4 separate regions of the Homo sapiens genome follow, and all the other regions are linked to region 3. Evidence: promoter capture Hi-C in human tissues and cell types (Jung and others, 2019). All regions are on one chromosome and are shown on one strand. The core of a region is centred on a gene start or on the middle of the fragment in contact, and the rest is flanking DNA. Distances in the headings are between cores, read along the strand shown.

Region 1 (4,966 bases), core at 135-2,634, 930 kb after region 3:
TATACTCCTGACGAAGGGGATCCCCTGAAGGACGTAATTCAGGGAATGACATGAACAGATTTGCATGTTAGAAAGGTCATTCTAGTGCAGCAGAATAGTTGCTGAATTTGAGGTAGCTAAGGACCTAGCACAAGGAAATTAGGAATCCATGGAAATAAAATACAAAAACCTGAACTAGGGGGGATGGAGGTCAGGGGACATAAGCTGTAATTGACAGGATTTTATGATTGATTGGATTTTATTAGTGAAGTTGGAATCTAGGATTTTGCTAAGGGTCTTAGACAACTGAATAAATAGTGGTGCCATAGAAGTAATGAAATAAATAAGAAAGATTTGGGAAGACAGGGAAAAGGAATCACCATTCCTTGCAGAGTAAGATATGATAAGCTCAGTTTTAGATATCTCAATTTGTTAGTAGTATCTGTAGTGCTCCCAGATAGAAATATTCACTGGGAGCCAGAAATGCAGGATTGGAATTTGAGAGAATGTAGAGCTTCAAAATCAAATGAGAATTAGTGTGTTAGTTCTATTATATCAGTAAGTGGAAGCTTGTAATGAAGGCAGAGCCCAGAAAGTATGTCATAGAGCTATAAGAGGAGAAGGCCAAGGACAGAACCTAATTAAACACTAGTATTAAGGGACAGTCAAAGGAAGAGAAAATTAAGAAAGAATAAAGGAAAAGGAAAAAAAGAAAAAATAATAAACAGAAAAAAGTGCCCTGGAAGCCAGAAGAGGTAGAGAGGTTCAAGAAGAGTATAGTTGGAAACAGCCAAGCAGTTAGGTTGTCGAAGCATTTGGTCATCAAGAGGACCCTGGTAGCTTTGTACCGGTATCAATAGAGTGGCAAGGATTAAAGAGCAGAGTAAAGGTGGAATGAGGCCTCAGCATGTGAACTCTCATGGAAGCCATTCTCAAAGTTTCACTTTGAAGAATAAAAAAAGATTCCTCAGTGGCTAAAGGGAGGTCTGGTGTCCATGAATGATTTTTTAAATAATGGACAGATGTAAAATTATATATTAAGGAGACAAAGCCAATAGACAGGTTCAGGTTGAAGACAGATAAAGAAAGGACACCAAGGACACAGTGGATCTTGGAGGAAGCAGGAAGTACTTTATTGGAAAGACAGGTTGACAGATCAGTCTTGCTCCAAGCAGAGGGTTCTCAAGTGAGAGTGATTGTGCCATCCAGGAGTCATTTAGCAATGTTTGGAGATGTTTTTTTGTTTTCTCAACTACAAGGTGGGGGATAATACTGGTGGGCAGAGGTCATGGATGTTGCTCAGTATCCTAGAATGCAGAGGACAGCTCCCCTCAACAAAGAATTCTCTGGCCAAAAATGTCAACAGGATGGAGCTTAGAGCAGTGCCCCTCTAAACAGGTAAGTGTGGATAGGGATGCAGATAAGTTAATAAAGGGTTGAAGTCTAGAAATTAAAGATATTTTTATGTTCTCCAAAACAAAAAGCAAGGTTCATTTCTAATGCGAGTGGCAAAGGAGTGAGATAGGAGCACAAGAAGAATAATAACCATCTGAGTAAGGAAAATAGGGGCTCATTTAGGACATATAAAAAGATTTCTTAGTAGTTCTGGGAGCTGCTCTTTTGGATACCATAAGAATGGAGGTGGCATAAATCTACAGTTGGATTTTTTCTTCTTCAGTAGTCTCTTCTCAGCATCTAGGGCATAGCAGTAGAGAAGGCAGATTTGGTTTAATATATAATTGGAGTTGTGAATGTGAAAGGAACACAAGAGGTTGAGAGACTTGATAGAATTGGTAAGAATTACCAGAGTGATGCACCATAGAGGATTATCCATTTGGAAAGGACGTAGAATCAGAAGATTGGCAGAGTTAGAAAGCACGTTCTCCTCTACAAGGTTACAGCAAGCTACCGGGGCCCAGGTAGAGGCATAGCATCACACGGAAAAGGAGTCACCAAGCTAGAACTATAGAGTTCAAGGCCATAAACTCTTTTGCTTATTTAGTATCTCAGATGTCAGGCAGCTCAGGTTATGATAAATTCATAAAGTATGTATAAAAGCTGAAGTGAAATTGAGGAACATGTTATTAGAGTTGAACTGGTCAAGGAACTAGGACCCAGAGTGTTGGACAGGTTGTACTCTTGAACATTAAGATTCCAGGATGATAGCAAGAGTTAGGATGAAGAGGAAACTGATGAACAAAGAGCTGACATACTTAATTCTTAGGTTAGAACAAAGGTCTCAACTTTGGCTTCACATTGAAATCACCAAACCAGTTAAAAAACTAGATATGGATTACAATCTCCACCCCTTCAAATACATTTAGTTGGTGAAATAGGACGTAGGCAAGGGCAGATTTCAAAAGCTTTCCAGGTAATTTTAATGTGCAGCCAATATTGACAGCCATTGTGTTAGAATGACCACAAGGTCTGCAGATCACAGATGCAAAGATAAGCAGGAGATGTAATAGCCAGGTGTCAGAGCACCCAAGGAAAAGTGCTTTGGCATTGCAATACCCTAAAATCAGCAGTAGGGAACTAAGAGGAGGCCATTGTTAACTCCCGGCTCTCATGGTTCATGAGAGAACCATGAACTATGTGAGAATGAGTAGCCTGTGCTGTAAGGAACTGAAAGAAAAATGGTTTCTTGGTAAAACATCAGTTTCAAATAAGCAAGGATATATGGTGATGGTTGCCTACAACAATGTAAGGACTGTAAGGGATACAGTCAAGAGGATTGGCAGGAATTTGATTATGGGCAAATGTTACAAGTGTAATATTACCCATTGTTTGTAATTCAGCAGCAGATTTAAGAATTTAGGAAAATGCTTGTCTTAGTTGTGTCTGCTGTAACAAATGTAGACTGGGTGGCTTAAATAACAAAATTTTTTTCTCACACTTCTGGAAGCTGGAAAGTTCATGATCAATGTGCTGGCAGATCCAGGGTCTGGTGAAAGTCTCCTTCCTGGTTTGCAACCTCACTTATCCTCACTGGGCAGAGAGCAGAGAGAGGAAGCAAGCTTTTTTGTGTCTCTCATTATAAAAGCACCAATACCATTTATGAGGGCTCTGCCCTCAAGACCTAATTACCTCCCAAATACCTCCTAACAACCATCTTGTTGAGAGTTAGGATTTTAACACATGAATTTGGGGGTTACACAGACATGAGGTCCATAACATAAACATAAGGTTAACACAAACATAACACAAACCTGAGGTCTAAATTTACAACATAAAAACCTTTAATGCAGTGGAAGCATTTATAACATTGGTGTAAAGGGTTGCTGTGACAGCTAACAATACTTTTAGTCTGTATTAAAAACTGTGTGATGCTATGAAACATACAGTCTTTACTCTTTGTGATTTTTCTCATGTCCCTGACTCTGCAACACGGTAACCTTTGAAACTGAGGTGACCTGACCCCCCCTCCCTTAGTATGTTTCTATTACCCTTGAGTTAACATTGACTCTGCCAGAGGAAACATAAAGAACTCTGTCAGTGTCTTACCTGTGAAGTTGGTATTGCCCCTTCCTCTTCCTGATGTGCCTGTGTTCTTATGGATAGGGACCTCCTACTTGTTTCCAAAACTTCCCAGTTCTCACTGCCTGTGCCACTCTACTTAGGTGGACTCACTGCATCATAGTCTTAGTTTAGACTGTAGTTGATTTTTCAAATTTCCTATGACTTTTGCCCCTCATAGAGTGATCTCCATGCTTCAAACATACCTTCATATTCATATTGCAGCAGACCAGTTCTTCAGATACCATCGTCAGTCACCCTTGAGGTCTACTTCAGGCTAATCCCACTGATGCCCAAACCTTAATTCTAATAGATTTAAGGAATTTAGAGTCATGTAAAGGAGTGGCAGAGGATAAAACTCCATTTGGGCAAGGGAGTAGGAATGTTCTCATGGAGGATATGGAACTCAAATTAGGCTTTAAATCTTAAGATGCGTGGATTTCTTTTGTTGAAGAACATGATTTGATCTTCTCTATCTGAATCCACGTGTTAGAGTAGAATCCTGCATATATTTTTTTCTCTTAGGAATGTGCTATGTGTGTAAGACAGTATTTTACTTCCCAGTGAGAGAAGGTATAACAAATGATCTATGTTTATGGAAAAGAAGCCCCTAAGAAATATAATGTTGCCTCGAGTAATTAAAATGATTTGAGTGCACTCTGAGTCATGGAACTAACAGCCAACTTTTGAGAAACGTGTAACTGAGCTTCTTAGCACCTGGCTAGTTGCATTTCTTAAATTTAGCTCCTTTATTAAAATATATATGGTTTGATTTTATCAAGACCTTACCTTATAAACCTCCCACAGAGTCTATCAGATATTTAATTTCATGTTCAAGTCTTATTTTTATTATCACTTTTTTTTAAGAAAGAACATGAAAAGTCGTCTGTGATAAAGTGACTAAAATTGTGGGGCATCTAAGTTCATAGAATTACAGAACTAGTGACATGGAAAGGACCTTAGAGAACATCCTTGGTGATTCTGATCAACTCCTTCATTCTACAGGAAATTGAGATCCGGGAAGCTATAAGAAGTTCGTTTAAAATGATGCTGCTAATTAGGAGCATGGCCTCCATATTCTCAGGCCAGTGCCCATTTTCCTCCACCACCTAGTTAGCAACACACACATACAGTTGGTACCTGCACAGTTAGCCAGGTTCTGTATCACACTGGTTTTTTACATCCCTGGTTGTTTTTTGGTTTGTTTGTTTTTGTTTTCTTTGTTTGGTTGCTTGGTTGGTTGGTTGGTTTTTTTTGTTGTTGTTGTTGTTTTGAAACAGTCTCACTCTATTGCCAAGCTGAAGTACAGTGGTGAGATCTCAGCTCACTGCAACCTCCACCTCCCAAGTTCAAGCAATTCTCATGCCTCAGCCTCCCAAGTAGCTGAGATTACAGGCGTGCACCACCATGCCTGGCTAATTTTTGTATTTTTAAGTAGAGACAGGGTTTCACTAGTTTGGCCAGGCTGGCC
Region 2 (4,844 bases), core at 248-2,747, 630 kb after region 3:
CTCATGTTTTATTCCCTTCACATTTGGGCCCCATCCTGCAGCCCTAGATTAAAGGCAAAGAAGAAACATGGATTTCAGTCACATTATCTGCTTTCTAAATCCAAATTCAAAACTATTATTCATTCAAAGTAAATATGCATAGCATATCATGAGAGAGAACATTTTGTTCAAGGAGACCCAAAGAAAGCATGTTAATTATAACTTGTATTCACGTAGCACCTAACTTAGGAGGAGTTCAAAGCAAATGCACGTGTGGAAAAGGTCAAACCCACCAGTGAAACAGGAAAGCCATGGAGCTTCTTTTCCATTCCATGTCATCCATATAAGGCGGGGTTTCCTTTTATGTCTAAGTTTAGACATCATCAGAAAAGTCAAACCACAAGAGAATGATGAAAATTGTGCTAAAATGTGGTTGATGTTTATGTTTTCTGTACCAACACAACCCTTTGGTGGAAAGTCTGAATCAGCTTCTCTGAGAACTTACTTATGACACATAATTAGAAGCGTTTACTCTTAAAAAAAATTTTAGCACTCGATAAAGCTCATCATATAGTCTGTATAAGCAGCATACAAGGTTATAGCACTATGGGAGTTAAGAAAATAAATGAAGCTTTGGTTCTGTGGTGGGAGAGGTCAATTATATCCACAGGTTGAAGGCAGTTGTTACTCAATAGGCAGAAATAAGGAAAAAAATTGAGACCTACATACAAGGAGAATAAAATGACATAAAACATGATAATGAAGAGAAAAAAGTGAGGGATATAAAGGGAGTGGTGAGTAGCCCCATACGTCTAAAGATGGGTTAGAGTTAGAAAATTTATGACATGGGGAGTATTGTATAGGGCTTAAAAGTGAGGGTGTGAATCCCAGATCTACCACATGGTTCTCTTGTGACCTTGAATAAGTTACATAAACTCTTCAAGACTTTGTCTCCTCTTCATTAAAATGGAGTTAATAATATTACATAGCTCATATGGTTTCCACAAAGATTAAGTGAGATAATCCCTGTGATAATCACAAAGGGAGAAAGTAGGTTCTATTCTTCATCTTTGTATGTTTGGAAGTAAGCACAGTGCTTGTTATATAGTAAGTGCTCAATAAATGTTAGCTTCCATGATGATTAAGAATTTTAAGATAAGAAAAGAAAGGTAGATCCAGAGCAACAAGACATTGGGCTATCACATTAAGGGACTTGGATTGTATATAATGATAAATGGAGAGACAATAGTAAAGTTTGTGATCAGAACATTGCTTAAGTTAATCTAGAAAATAAATTGTAAGGAGACTAGAGTTAGGATTACTACAGAGGAGGCTAAAGAGAGCCCAAGCTAGATGGGTGACTGTGCTTCTGGAAAGAGGAGAAAGAAGAAATATCTTGGAGGAAGCTTAGGAGCAACCCACAGGAAAGCCATAGAATATTTTCTTTAGCTGGGTGTGGCGGCAAGTGCCTGTAGTCCCAGCTACTGGGGAGGCTGAGGCAGGAGAATTGCTTGAAACCCGGAAGCGGAGGTTGCAGTGAGCAGAGATCGCGCTACTGCACTCCAGCCTGGGCGACAGAGCGAGACTCCGTCTCTACAAAAAGAAAAGGAAAAGAAAGCCATAGAATATTTTCTACATCTTCATAAAAACAAAAGGGCTGAATTCATAAATGACTTAAGCTCAACATTAGACTGACCACTGGGACAATGAAACAAACTCTAAGACTCAAATATCCTGAAGATACAAATTCCAGATAAATTAGACATTTACTGGCAGGAAGTTAGAACTTTCATCTTAACGAAGAAAAATTCAGGAAAACAGACCATTTCTATGACTTAGACCTCAATCAAAGTCCCGAGGGAGATATTTATTTAATAAAATAGTTAGGAGTGCTGACTGGGTAGCCAAACTGCCCGAGTTCAATTTCAGCACCGCCACTTTCTAGTTGTGTAGCAAGCTACTCAACCACTCCATACCTGTTTGCTCCTCTATACAATGCTCACCCCTGCTGGTATCTAATTAATAACAGTATTTATTTTAAAAGGTTTTTGTGAGGATTAATGATTTAATACACTTTAAACACTTAGAACTGTGCCAGGTACATAATTAACCATTGATAAATGTTAGCTTTTTTTTTTTTTTTTTTTTTTTTTTGAGATGGAGTCTCGCTCTGTCACCCAGGCTGGAGTCCAGTGGCGCGATCTCGAATTACTGCAACCTCCCCATCCCAGGTTCAAGCAATTCTTCTGCCTCACCCTCCCAAGTAGCTGGGACTACAGGTGCATGCCACCATGCCCAGCTAATTTTTTGTATGTTTTTTTTAGTAGAGAGGGGGTTTCACCGTGTTAACCAGGATGGTCTCGATCTCCTGACCTTGTGATCTGCCCACCTCAGCCTCCCAAAGTGCTGGGATTACAGGCGTGAGCCACCGTGCCCTGCCAAATGTTAACTATCTTAATTCCTGTGCTATTTCGATTTGATTTGGGCCAAGATTTACTGGTGGCATGTGGATCAATCCCAAATGCTATGCCACTTTCCCTGTGATTCACAATGATGACCCATACACCATGATATACCACTGCCCCTAATAAAACAGACTCATTTTTCACTTCCCCAATCTCCCACATACCAAAGATACAAGGTTTGACAATTTTGCACATAGTATGAAATGTTACTCTTCCTTGCATGCATCATGCATGTTCACATCATAAAGTGGAATGGCTCTAAAAACCAAGTGTTGTGGCTTCAGATGACTGATAACAGATGTTAAAACAAATTCCTGATTTAGGTTAAAAAATCTCAAATACTTTCAATATTTGTATGATTTTTTTAAAGGAGACATTTTTCAAATATGAGTTACAAAAACAAAATCCATATTCAAATTACATTCTGTATAGGGATTTAAAAGAAAATTAGCCGGGCATGGTGGCTCATGCCTGTAATTCCAGCACTTTGGGAGGCCGAGATGAGAGGATCGCTTGGGCCTGGGAGTGTGAGACCAGCCTTGGCAAAACAGTGAGACCTTGTCTCTCCAAAAAAAAAAAAAAAAAAATTAATTAGCTGAGTATAGTGGTGCATCTGTAGTCCTAGCTACTTGGGAGGCTGAGGTGGGAGGATCACTTGAGCCTGTGAGGTGGAGGTTGCAGCAAGCCAAGATTGAGCCATTGCATTTCAGCCTGGACAACAGAGTGAGACCTTGTCTCAAAATAAATAAATAAAATAAAATAAACCAATTTTGTGTTATATTTTTAGAAAGTGAGTTTAAAAATAATAAAAAGTCTTCTGTTTATCATCACAGAGTAGGCAATTTCTCCATAACTACTATGTAAAATATAAAATGTAGACAATGAACTCATAAAAAATAAAATAATTATACTGTTTATCACCACATAATTGCTATATAAAATTATGAAATATATATTAATTCAAGTGTCTTATTCTAACACACAAACTTTCTGTTGCACATAATGGGCCATTTCAAGCCTTTGATGTTTAATTACTATTTAATGATAGACTACTAATTCCAAACCAGTTCACAAGGTTGAAACTGTTTCTTGGATCAGTTCAGCATCCACTGCAATTTTAACTACCCTGAATTACTAATTTAGTATCATCATGGACATGCTAAATTAATTATTTCACTTAATATTGAGCATAAGCTAAGTGCATTGGAAATCCGCATTTCTTGATATCTGAAAGAAATAAGAAACTAAGAGCTACAGATTTTTAAAAGAGCATTCAGAAAACTTCAGAATGAATCAGTGCAAGTAATCACAAGTCTCTAATTTCTAGGCAATACTTTATTTCATTAAACATGGAATCTTTGAAATATTCCTTTAACACAGAATAGAGTTTTATGTATCCCAACTTGTCCCATACTGATCAGAAAGTGACAATCATGAATGCCTAAAGAAACCCTTTAAAAGTCAAGATGACCTTTCCAGAATGTACACTCCCATTTTGTGCATAATTATTCTACATGGCAAACAAAAAGACCATGATTATTTTATAAAACCACATCTGTCTAGATAAAGCAAACCATATTTTTATGTCACTCCATAATATTAAGCAACGTGATTAAGTATTCACATCTGTCATCCTTTTATTCTTCTCCTTTATCATCAGCTAAAAAGAAAACATGAAAGAAGTGAATTGATCTTTAACCAGAGGAAAAAGGAAAATACCCCACCTTTGGCTTATCAACACTGGCAACTGTTACCAAGCTCTGGGCTCAAAAGACCTAATAATTACCTTCAGGGTAAGGGACAGTAACAACATCCAAATTCCTCCCAACAGACCTTCCATGCAATTTATCTTATTGCCTCCTGGAAACAAGATGTATATGTTAGGTTTGCAGTGTCAGTGTGATCCTTTCCATTCTTCAATGTGAGAAATAAACAGGTAGCAATATGTATCATGGCTAAAAACTCAGGCTTGTATTAGAATGCCGAGAGTTCAAATCTCAGCAACCCCACTTACAGAATGTATGATGCTGGGCAAACTATTTCTCTAAACTTCAGCTTTTTTATCTATAAAATAGGTCCACATAAAGGGCTTAGAACAAACCCTGGTACAATGTAAGTCCTCAATAAATAGTAAACAATAAAATTATTATCACAACTTAATTAAGAGTGACAGATACATTCTGCAGCAAAGGCATGAATGATGACTGTATTTGTGTGACTGGACAAGGGCTTTCTGTTTGTTACTTTCAGTCAGAGGAGACAGCATTAGAGAAATAAGTGAGGCCAGGATTCAGTTCTTAGAAGCATAGAATAAGCCCTATTTTGGCTCCCTTCTCCCATTAGAGACAGCCGCATTTTCTTGTGCAGCACAGCGCCTGCCACATCCCTGAGACACAATGG
Region 3 (5,045 bases), core at 97-2,596:
GGATGTTTTCATTCTGGCCCTGTCTGTTTGCTGTTTGATAAGAGAGTGGGAAAGGGAGGGGGTTATAAAGTCGTGATTTATTCACAAGGGCAAAGGGAAGGACAAGGAACTTGAGAAAATTACTCCATCTAGGGTTTCTGATCCATCATCATCCTTGTTCTGCGCTCACTCAGCCGTATCCAGCTCTACTGGGCATATCACTATTATTGCTATCAATTGTTTTGCTAGTTGCTTAGTCCCAAATCATTATCATCTTTTCTGTCATTCCACATTTAGGTATTTTATTCAACAAATAGACTGAATGCCTATTATATACCAGACACTCTTCTAAAGCACTGGGGAAAGATAGAGCATGGATCAAAACAACTTCCTGTTCTCCTGGAGTCTACAATTTTGTTTGGTGGTAGTGGAAGCGTAACTAAATATATATGATAAGTGCTATAGAGAAAAGCAAATTAGGGTTAGAATGGAACGAGATGCCCCGCTGGCCTGTAAGCTCCAGGAGGACGAGGACCTGCCCTCTCATTAAGGTATTTTCCGTGCTTAGAATGGTGTCTGCTACGTAGTAGATATCTATTATTGGTTGAATGAATAAGTGATGTTGACCATAGATAAATTAGTTCAAAACTTAGATTTTCAAATTATGTCAGTAGCAGGCACACATCTTAAATTGTTATATCACTCCAGTGCACGTCTTGCTGAAATTCAGAAGAGGAAGCTATTTCGTATGAAGCCAATAACCTCAAATCAGAAATGAAAACTGGGATATCACCTGTCATATCACTTGCCATCCTCGGCTAAGCCAGGAGAGTGTCCGGCCCAATATTCGGTAGCCTGGATACGTAGGTGTATTTAGTGAACGAAAGAATGAATCCTAGCCACTGCAAAGCTGCAAAACCCTCGGGGGTAGTGCTTGGCTTCTGCCAGTTCCACAAGTATTTTAATATTAGCTGAACAAATGAAATGACCAAAAAATAAATCGCGATTTTGTGTCAGATGAACTTGGGAAGGCGGATGCGCTTAGGGTCCGGCTGTAGCGAGTAAGACACTCCCTGCGAAGAGTTCTGTGGGGTACGAACTCCGGACTGCGAGTCCAGCTCACGAGTTTGTACCTAAAACCTTGCCCTGCGGGAGCGACGCTGTCCTAACGCGACCTGCCCTGCCCGTCAGCTCCTATTGGCTGACTCTCGGAAGACCCGCCTCTTGAGAAGGAAAAGCAGTCGCTTCCCGAATTGCCTGACATCATGCAATGACCAATCAGAAGCAGCGATCTTCAGTTTTGCCCAATGAGGCTGGTTACGGGTCCTGGCCCGCGGAGTTTGATTTCGTCCTGGGATGCGGAAGTAGCAGTCCTGTCATGCGGAAGTAGCAGTCCGGTCCTAGGGACTAGCAGGTGGGTTGGTTGGGCGCAGGAGGACGGGGGCGCGCTTCCCATAACATTACCCTGGCTGAGCGTGAGGCTCCAGGGCTGGGCACCGGGTTGACCTCTTATTCCTCGCTGAGGGCATCGTTACCGCCTGTGGCTGCAAGCCGAGGCGCGCGGGTGGAAACTGGGTCGAGGTCTGGGTAGACGTCTGAGCGATCTGCACAAGGAGTGGCGCAGTCTGGAATTTGATTGAGGATTCCTAACGCCCTCCGCTTGATGTTCTGGTGATTCCCGGGGGCTCGGCTTCGGAGGAAGGTGAGCAAGGCTACCACGCTGTGTTTGGAGAGCACCAGGAAGCTTGTGACCAAAGCGAGGGACGCGATCCGGCTCTGGTCACGGCCTGTTACTAGATGGGTGACCAAGTCACGTCCCGTATCTGGAATTCATGCTTCTCATTTTAAAAGAGTGAGGAGGGATGGGCATTCCACATGGCTGGGGAGGCCTCACAATCATTGCTGAAGGCAAATGAGTAGCAAAGTCACATTTTACATGGTGGCAGGCAAGAGGGCTTGTGCAGGGGAACTCCTGTTGATAAAACCATCACATCTCATGAGACTTATTCACTACCACGAGCATAGTATGGGGGAAGCTGCCCCCATGATTCAGTTATCTTCACCTGGCCCCACCCTTGACACGTGAGGATATGTGTGTGAGAAGAGCTACTGTTTATTTTTTTAAAAACTGAGTCGTCCCTTGCCTGCTTTCAAGGGTTGGCTAAACTCACCCATCTGCTAAGAGTCTCAGCCCAAAGCTTTCAGGAAAGAGCGAGCTTCGCTGTGGCATGTAACTTGAAGCCTTGCCTACTAAGTAGATGTCCAGTTTGTTGATTGGTCTCTATTAACTAGGCTCAAACATCCTACGAGGTTTTAATGTAATCTAACCAATTAATTGAAATTTCCTTTACAACCCTCTCTTTCCCCCAGACTTCCCCTTCCTTTCTTTTTCTCTGACTTAAAAGAATGCTGGCTAGGAGAAATTAGTTGACTGTGTCGTGTATCAAGAGGACTTTTCCAGGTTATGTAGTACAATTTGGCATTTATTTGTCAAGAGTAACATTTTCTAAAATTTTCCCCAAAGGCACCAAGAAACTGATAATGTTCCTTTGAATTGGCTTCTGTATTTGCTTCATCAATGTCTCTCATACTGAATATCTTAAGAGAGATGCTGGAATATTTTGGCGTTCCTGTAGAACAGGTAAATGTCGTTTTGGATTGGAATGGATCTGTTGTATTTGTTCTTGGGTTTCATTTTGAAAATGACTTATATGTAATCATTTGATTTAAGGCAAAGTTGTTGCTTCTTTTTAGTTGGAACAAAGGTGAGTTTGTAATAGTATAGCTTTGATGATTTGAGTTAGAAGAGGGATAAGATTATTGAGAACATATTTACCTGATAGGACAAATGCCAACAGAAGATACAAAGGAAGCAAAATATAGACATGAGCTTCACAGAATTACATTTATTGCACAGATACATTAAAACTTCTATTCAAGGTAATTTATAAACAAGTTCAATATTTAAAGCTCAATAAATCCAGAATAAATCTAATGGAAAGAGGATGATTTAGGCCTGAGAATTATAAGCTGTATTAGTCTGTTCTCATGCTGCTAATAAAGACATACCGGAGACTGGGTAATTTATAAAGGAAAGAGGTTTAATTGACTCACAGTTCCACATGGCTGGGGAGGCCTCACAATCATTGCTGAAGGCAAATGAGTAGCAAAGTCACATTTTACATGGTGGCAGGCAAGAGAGCTTGTGCAGGGGAACTCCTGTTTATAAAACCATCACATCTCATGAGACTTATTCACTACCACGAGCATAGTATGGGAGAAGCTGCCCCCATGATTCAGTTATCTTCACCTGGCCCCACCCTTGACACGTGAGGATAATTACAATTCAAGGTGAGATTTGGGTGGGGACACAGCCAAACCATATCATAAGCAAATCAAATTTTATCTACTTGTTGAAAATCTGCTGTATCTAAGACAATATGCTTGTTTCTGCAGGTAATACAGAGGAGTAATACATGGTTGTATTCATAATGCTTAAAATATGAGGAATAAGAAACAATAAAGATAACTGTAATATGAGATTGTAAGGAAGACGGGTGGGGTGAATTAGAAGAAAGTAGTCAAGGATAATTTAAGATTTTTTTAAAGCAAAAGTAAGTTGAAGAATCATAGTACCATTATTATAAATGGGCATCTTAGTATGAGAAACTAGTTTGAATATGGAGATGAGGTGAGTCAGAGGTGATGTTAGAACATATAAGTAGAAATATCCTTCAGACAATTGGATATATATATGGTTTTAGTATGTAGGAAAGAAAAAGATTCAGTTTTGGGAGTTATCTGCTTTGTTTTGATATTTAAAGCCATGGACTTCGATAATGGCAAATGTCATTAGATGTGATTGAAACATTCTAAATATCAGTAATCGAGAGACTGAAGATAACAGCTGAACATTTGTTTATCACTATTAGGTTATTGGTGACCTTAAGAATTTCTGTAAGTGGAGAATGGGACTGTGTTGGAGTAGTTTGAAGAATATCAGGAAGGGAGGTGGGATCAGCAACCTTCTTTTGAAAAGTTTGCTTGTGAAAAGAAATTGAGAGAGGCCATCAGCCTGAAGGGGCCGCAGGATGGAATTTTTCTTTTTCTTTTAAAGTTAGAAGTAACTTCAGCATATTTGTCATCACTCTGGAAGAAACAGACAGGAAGAAATTTAAGATCCACATGAGAGAGGATTGAGCACCGCCTTTGAGAAGGTAGTTGGGCAAGGGATCTAATTAAATAAGTCTTGGAAAGGAGAGAGACTGTCCTGCCTTAAAGAACAGAATGAAAGTGAGAGAGAGTGAAAAGAGATTTTTTTTTTTTTTAAGATGGAGTCTTGCTCTGTTGCCCAGGCTGGAGTGCAGTGGTGCAATCTTGGCTCACTGCAACCTCTGCTCCGAGGTTCAAGTGATTCTCCTGCCCCAGCCTCCCGCGTAGCTGGGATTACAGGAGCCTGCCACCAATGCCCAACTGATTTTTATATTTTTAGTAGAGATGGGGTTTTACCACGTTGGCCAGGCTGGTCTTGAATTCCTAACCTCAAGTGATCCACCTGCCTTGGCCTTCCGAAGTGCTGGGATTACAGGCGTGAGCCCCTGCGCCTGGCCTGAAAAGAGATTTTGAATGGAGCTAAGTAAGAGAAGTGAAGTTGAGGTATGTCAAGTTGAAGTTCTCGGTTTTCTCAGTAAGAGCAGAGACAAGGTCACTTGCAGGTAATGAAGTGGTGGGATTTGAGAAGGGATTTCAGAGATTGGAGACTGCTCTGGGCAATGTGGTATAGAATGTAACATGTTATGAAGGGATTTCAGAATACCTGTGAGAACCCAGCTGAAGTCATCATGGAATTGTAGTTTTTCTAAATATTGTCGTTTTGTGATTTTTTTTTCCTAGCTAAGAGTAATTACAGTAGTGTATTCATTAGCAGTGTGGGAGCACATAATATCAAAAGAATGAACCATTTTTGAGTGGCATTGAACATATTACTGAAATAATTAACCAGAAAATCCATGCTTGGTAGGAAAATTAGTAAAGTCAAAATGTGGGTACTAGACCAGGAATAGAGG
Region 4 (4,870 bases), core at 1,454-3,953, 710 kb after region 3:
TTCTGCATGTGGACCACGTGGTCAGTGCCCACTCCCAGTGTTACTGACACCAAGAAACATTATGGTTTGGGATAATACACATATTCTTTCATTTATTCAGCAAGGAGCTAGTTCTTAATCACCACTTATTGTTCTAGGCACTTACTGTTCCTGTAGCAGAAAACAAAAGAGAAAAAGCCCTGCTCTCATGGAACTTATGAATGAATGAATGAAGAAAATAGAAAAATAAAGCAGTGACATGGGTTAGGAAGTGTTGGGTGTCACTTTTTTTTTCATGAATTTTAATTTTTTTAATTTTTTTAATTTTTATTTTAGTTTTGGGGTATATGTGAAGGTTTGTTACATAGATATACATATGTCATAGGGGTTTGTTGTACATATTATTACACCACCCAGGTATTAAACAGAGTACCCAATAGTTATCTTTTCTTCTTCTCTTCCTCCTCCTACCCTCCCCCTTCAAGTAGACCCCAGTGTCTGTTGTTTCCTTCTGTGTGTTCATAAGTTCTTATCATATAGCTCCCAGTTATAAGTGAGAATATGCAGTATTTGGTTTCCTGTTCCTGTGTTAGTTTGCTAACGATGACAGTCTCCAGCTCCATCCATGTTCCCACAAAAGACATGATCTCATTCTTTTTTATGGCTGCATAATATTCCATGGTGCGTATGTGCCACATTTCCTTTATCCAGTCAGTCACTGATGGGCACTTAGGTTTATTCCATGTCTTTGGTATTGTGAGACAATAAACATTTGCGTGCATGTGTCTTTATGGTAGAATGATTTATATTCCTCTGGGTATATACCCAGTAATGGGATTACTGGGTCAAATGGTAGTTCTGCTTTTAACTCTTTGAGGAAATGCCATACTGCCTTCCACAATGGTTGAACTAATTTACACTCCCACCAACAGTGTAATAAAGTATTCCCTTTTCTCCACAACCTCCCCCGCATCTGTTATTTTTTGACTTTTTAATAATAGCCATTCTGACTGATGTGAGATGGTATCTTATTGTGGTTTTCATTGCTTTTCTCTAATAATCAGTGATATTGAGCTTTTTCTCATATGCTTCTTGCCCATATGCATGTCTTCTTTTTGAAAGTGGTCACGTCCTTTGCCCACTTTTTGATAGGGTTGTTTTTTCTCTTGTAAATGTGTTTAAGTTCCTTATAGATGCTGGATATTAGACCTTTCTCAGATGCATAGTTTGTAAATATTTTCTCCCATTCTGTAGCTTGTCTGTTTACTTTGATGATAGTTTCTTTTGCTGTGCAGAAGTTCTTTGACCTAATTAGATCCCACTTGTCAACTTTTGCTTTTGTTGCAATTGCTTTTGGTGTCTTTGTTGTGAAATCTTCGCCCATTCCTAGGTCCAGGATAGTATTGTCTAGGTTGTCTTCCAGGGTTTTTATAGTTTGAGGTTTTACATTTAAGTCTTTAATCCATTTTGAATTGATTTTAGGGTATAAGGAAGAGGTCCAGCTTCAATCTTCTGCATATGGCTAGCCAGTTATCCCAGCACCATTTATTGAAAAGGGAGTCTTTTCCCCATTGCTTATTTTTATCAGTTTTGTCGAAGATCAGTTGGTCATAGATATGCAGCCTTATTTCTGGGGTCTCCATTCTGTTCCATTGGTCTATTTGCCTGCTTTTGTACCAGTACCATGCTGTTTTGGTCACTGTAGCCTTGTAGAATAGTTTGAAGTCGGGTAACATGACGCCTCCTGCATTGTTCTTTTTGCCTAGGATTGCCTTGGCTATTCGGGCTCTTTTTTTGGTTCCACATAAATTTTTAAATAATTTTGTTTAGCCTTGTGAAAAATGAAGTTGGTAGTTTGATAGGAATAACATTGAATCTGGAAATTGCTTTGGGCAGTATAGCCATTTTAGAGATATTGCTTCTTCCTACCCATGAGCATGGGATGTTTTTACATTTGTTTGTGTCTTCTCTGATTTATTTGAGCAGTGTTTTGTAGTTCTCATTGTAGAGATCTTTTACTTCCCTGCTTATCTGTGTTCCTAGGTATTTTATTTTGTATGTGTGGCAATTGTGAATTGGATTGCCTTTCTGATTTGAGTCTCAGTTTGGTTGATGTTGGTGTGTAGGAATGCTAGTGATTCTTGTACATTGATTTTGTATCCTGCAACTTTGTTGAAGTTGTTTTTCAGCTGAAGGAGCTTTTGGGCTGAGACTATGGAGTTTTCTAGATATAGAATCATACCTTCTGCAAACAGAGATACTTTGAATTCTCTTTCTATTCGAATGCCCTTCATTTCTTTCTCTTGCCTGATTGCTCTGACTAGGACTTCCAATACTATGTTGAATAGCAGTGGTGAGAAAAGGCATTCTTGTCTTGTGCCAGTTTTCAAGGGGAATGCTTCTAGCTTTTGCCTGTTCACTATGATGTTTGTTGTGGGTTTGTCATAGATGGCTCTTATTATTTTGAAACATGCTCCTCCAATACCTAGTTTTTGAGACTTGTTAACTTGAAGGGATGTTGAATTATTTCAAAAGTCTTTTCCACATCTATTGAGATAATCATGTAGTTTTTGTCTTTAGTTCTGTTTATGTGATGAATCACATTTATTCATGAACCAACACTGTCTCCCAGAGATGAAGCCTACTTGATCATGGTGGATTAACCTTTTCAGGTGCTGCTGGATTCGGTTTGCAAGTACTTTGTTGAGAATTTTTCCATCAATGTTCATCAAGGATATTGGCTTGAAGTTTTCTTTTTTGTTGTGTCTCTGCCAAATTTTGGTATCAAGATGATGCTGGCCTCATAGAATGAGTTGGGAAGAAGTCCCTCCTCAATTTTTTGGAATAGTTTCTGTAAGAATAATACCAGCTCTTCTTTATGTATCTGGTAGAATGCTACTATGAATCCATGAGATCCTGAGGCTTTTTTAGTTGGTAGGCTATTTATTACTGATTCAATTTCAGAGCTCATTATTTATCTATTCAGGGAATCTATTTCTTTCTGGCTCAGTCAGATGTCACTTTAAATCGAAATCGGTGGTCAAGGAAAGCCTTTCTGCAAAGATGACACTCAAACAAAGATTTAAAGGAGAAGAAGAATGAGCTCCCCAAAATATATAGGGAAGAGTATTTTAAGCAGAAAGACAAGCAAATGCAAAGGCCCTGGGGCAGAAGTGTGGACCAGTAAGAGGAGATGAAGTCAGAGGAGTAGGGGAGGGGACACAAATCACAAAGGGCCTTAGAGGCCATGGTACTGACCTTGACTTTCAGCCTGAGTAGAGGAGCCATAGAAGGGTTTTTGAGTAGAGAAGACAGAGTTTGATTCTCAAGTGATCATTTCTATTGTTTTGTTGAGAGTAGAGTTGTGAGGGGCAAGGGTGGAGGCAGGGAGACCAGTTTGGAGGCCTTTTTAATAAGCTAGATGCCTCAGCCGCCACTCTTGGGCAGAGAATATTCCACTGGTTGTGCCACAAATCTGTCTTCAAAACAACACACCTCCAAGTGCAGCCTATAATACACTAAAGTATCACATAGCTTTGAAGTACAAATGCAGGTAGGGTCAGCCCAGCTGTCCACTGACTCAAGCTGGCTCCTGTGTGAGTAGACATTATCAGGGGACCCCCACTCATATACACTAGCACTGCACAGAGGGAGTTGAGAGAACAGTGCTGTCTGTGACTTGTTACTTAATGTTGCTCTCAGCCTCTACGGTTGCAAACCCACTATTCCTTTCATTCTTGAATGTGTCCACCCCATCCTTTGGCTCAAAAGTCTACTGTTAACATTGTATATATTGACTCAGTTTCCCCACTCAGCTGCCTTTCCCACTCCTGCAACTGAGCAAGGTAAAACTATAGGAATCCTATTTATGTCAAGACATAGCAGAGATATCACCAGTATACTGTCATTATGGATGAATATCCACTTTCTTACCCAACATATATATGCCCTGTTTGAGCTTAAATGCTCCACACAAACATGTAGGCACCAACTTTAGGCTTTTTTTTTCTATTTTTGGCCTTGCAAAAGCCCCATACTCTTTGTGAAAAGAAGGGAAAAGTTCCACTCTCTCTACCAGCGTTTTCAAACCAAGATGTGACCACAAGTACAGCAGCACCACCTCAGGGCTACCCTGGGAAATGTGTATCTGAGGGCCTGGATGTGAAAGTTGTGTATCTGTCTTTTATATCCAAACACCCATAGGAGGCCAGAAGAGAGATCTGTTATCTTAGAATGAGAGGATTCCAAGATGATCCAAGGTGTTTGGTAAATCCTAGGGCTTATCATATGATGGCAGAAATTTATCCCGCATTTCCCTACCATATCTGCCCAAATAAATGGTTTCCCCTAAGAGGCCAAGTGTTTGACTGATGCTTTGCTTCATTTGTAGCCTTATAGGTGCTGCAGTTCCTGTTTTCTGCTGACCAGCTGTTCATCTGCCCTAACCCTCCCTGACCATAAGCCCATTTTTTTAAATAAACTGCACAGTAGTATCATGGAGACAATGGATAAAAAATACCAATGCTCATGCTTCTCCATAGCAAGTTAATCAAACTTCTGTGAGTGTGGCTAAGGCATTACTTGGGGTGATGGCAATGTGCAGACAGGATTGAGTGAAAACTCCATTCTTAGCCATCAAAACTAATGTCTTTATTCCTTAAGTGGAAACCATCCTCATTCAAGAAAATACTGGAAGAGAACAAAGCTAACTTTATCCGTGAACCTAATTCTACACAAAACTGATCCCAGACAAGGTGTGATGGTTAATATTGAGTGTCAACTTGATTGGATTGAGGGATGCAAAGTATTGTTCCCGGGTGTGTCTGTGAGGTTGTTGCCAAAGGAGATTAACATTTGAGTCAGTGGACTGGGAAAGGCAGACCCACCCTCA

What was found. Contacts are between HindIII fragments. The study calls those that stand out against the background at their distance.
Region 1: a fragment that was not itself captured here is called in contact with the fragment with the promoter of MTFR2 in region 3 in 1 of the 25 tissues and cell types used here (dorsolateral prefrontal cortex).
Region 2: a fragment that was not itself captured here is called in contact with the fragment with the promoter of MTFR2 in region 3 in 1 of the 25 tissues and cell types used here (bladder).
Region 4: a contact is called between a fragment that was not itself captured here and the fragment with the promoter of MTFR2 in region 3, in 2 of the 25 tissues and cell types used here (dorsolateral prefrontal cortex and hippocampus).

Annotation. Positions count from the first base shown.
Region 1 is chr6:135,312,313-135,317,278 of GRCh38, reverse strand. All of the region lies in intron 26 of AHI1 (Abelson helper integration site 1), which reads left to right. Among named protein-coding and RNA genes, the nearest start is that of MIR548A2, 76 kb to the right of the region's middle. The HindIII fragment of the contact is 5,785 bases long and covers 1-4,276 here.
Region 2 is chr6:135,620,168-135,625,011 of GRCh38, reverse strand. The region is part of intron 2 of AHI1-DT (AHI1 divergent transcript); the gene reads right to left. It also overlaps the pseudogene GAPDHP73. Among named protein-coding and RNA genes, the nearest start is that of LINC02524, 12 kb to the left of the region's middle. The HindIII fragment of the contact is 3,430 bases long and covers 1-3,212 here.
Region 3 is chr6:136,246,612-136,251,656 of GRCh38, reverse strand. It overlaps MTFR2 (mitochondrial fission regulator 2), which reads left to right and starts at 1,346. Exons shown (of 8, transcript NM_001099286.3): 1 at 1,346-1,681; 2 at 2,504-2,620. The coding sequence starts at 2,558. RefSeq lists enhancers at 877-1,026, 1,677-1,896. The HindIII fragment of the contact is 3,026 bases long and covers 1-1,950 here.
Region 4 is chr6:135,539,909-135,544,778 of GRCh38, reverse strand. All of the region lies in intron 2 of AHI1-DT (AHI1 divergent transcript), which reads right to left. Among named protein-coding and RNA genes, the nearest start is that of AHI1-DT, 45 kb to the right of the region's middle. The HindIII fragment of the contact is 8,163 bases long and covers 1-4,870 here.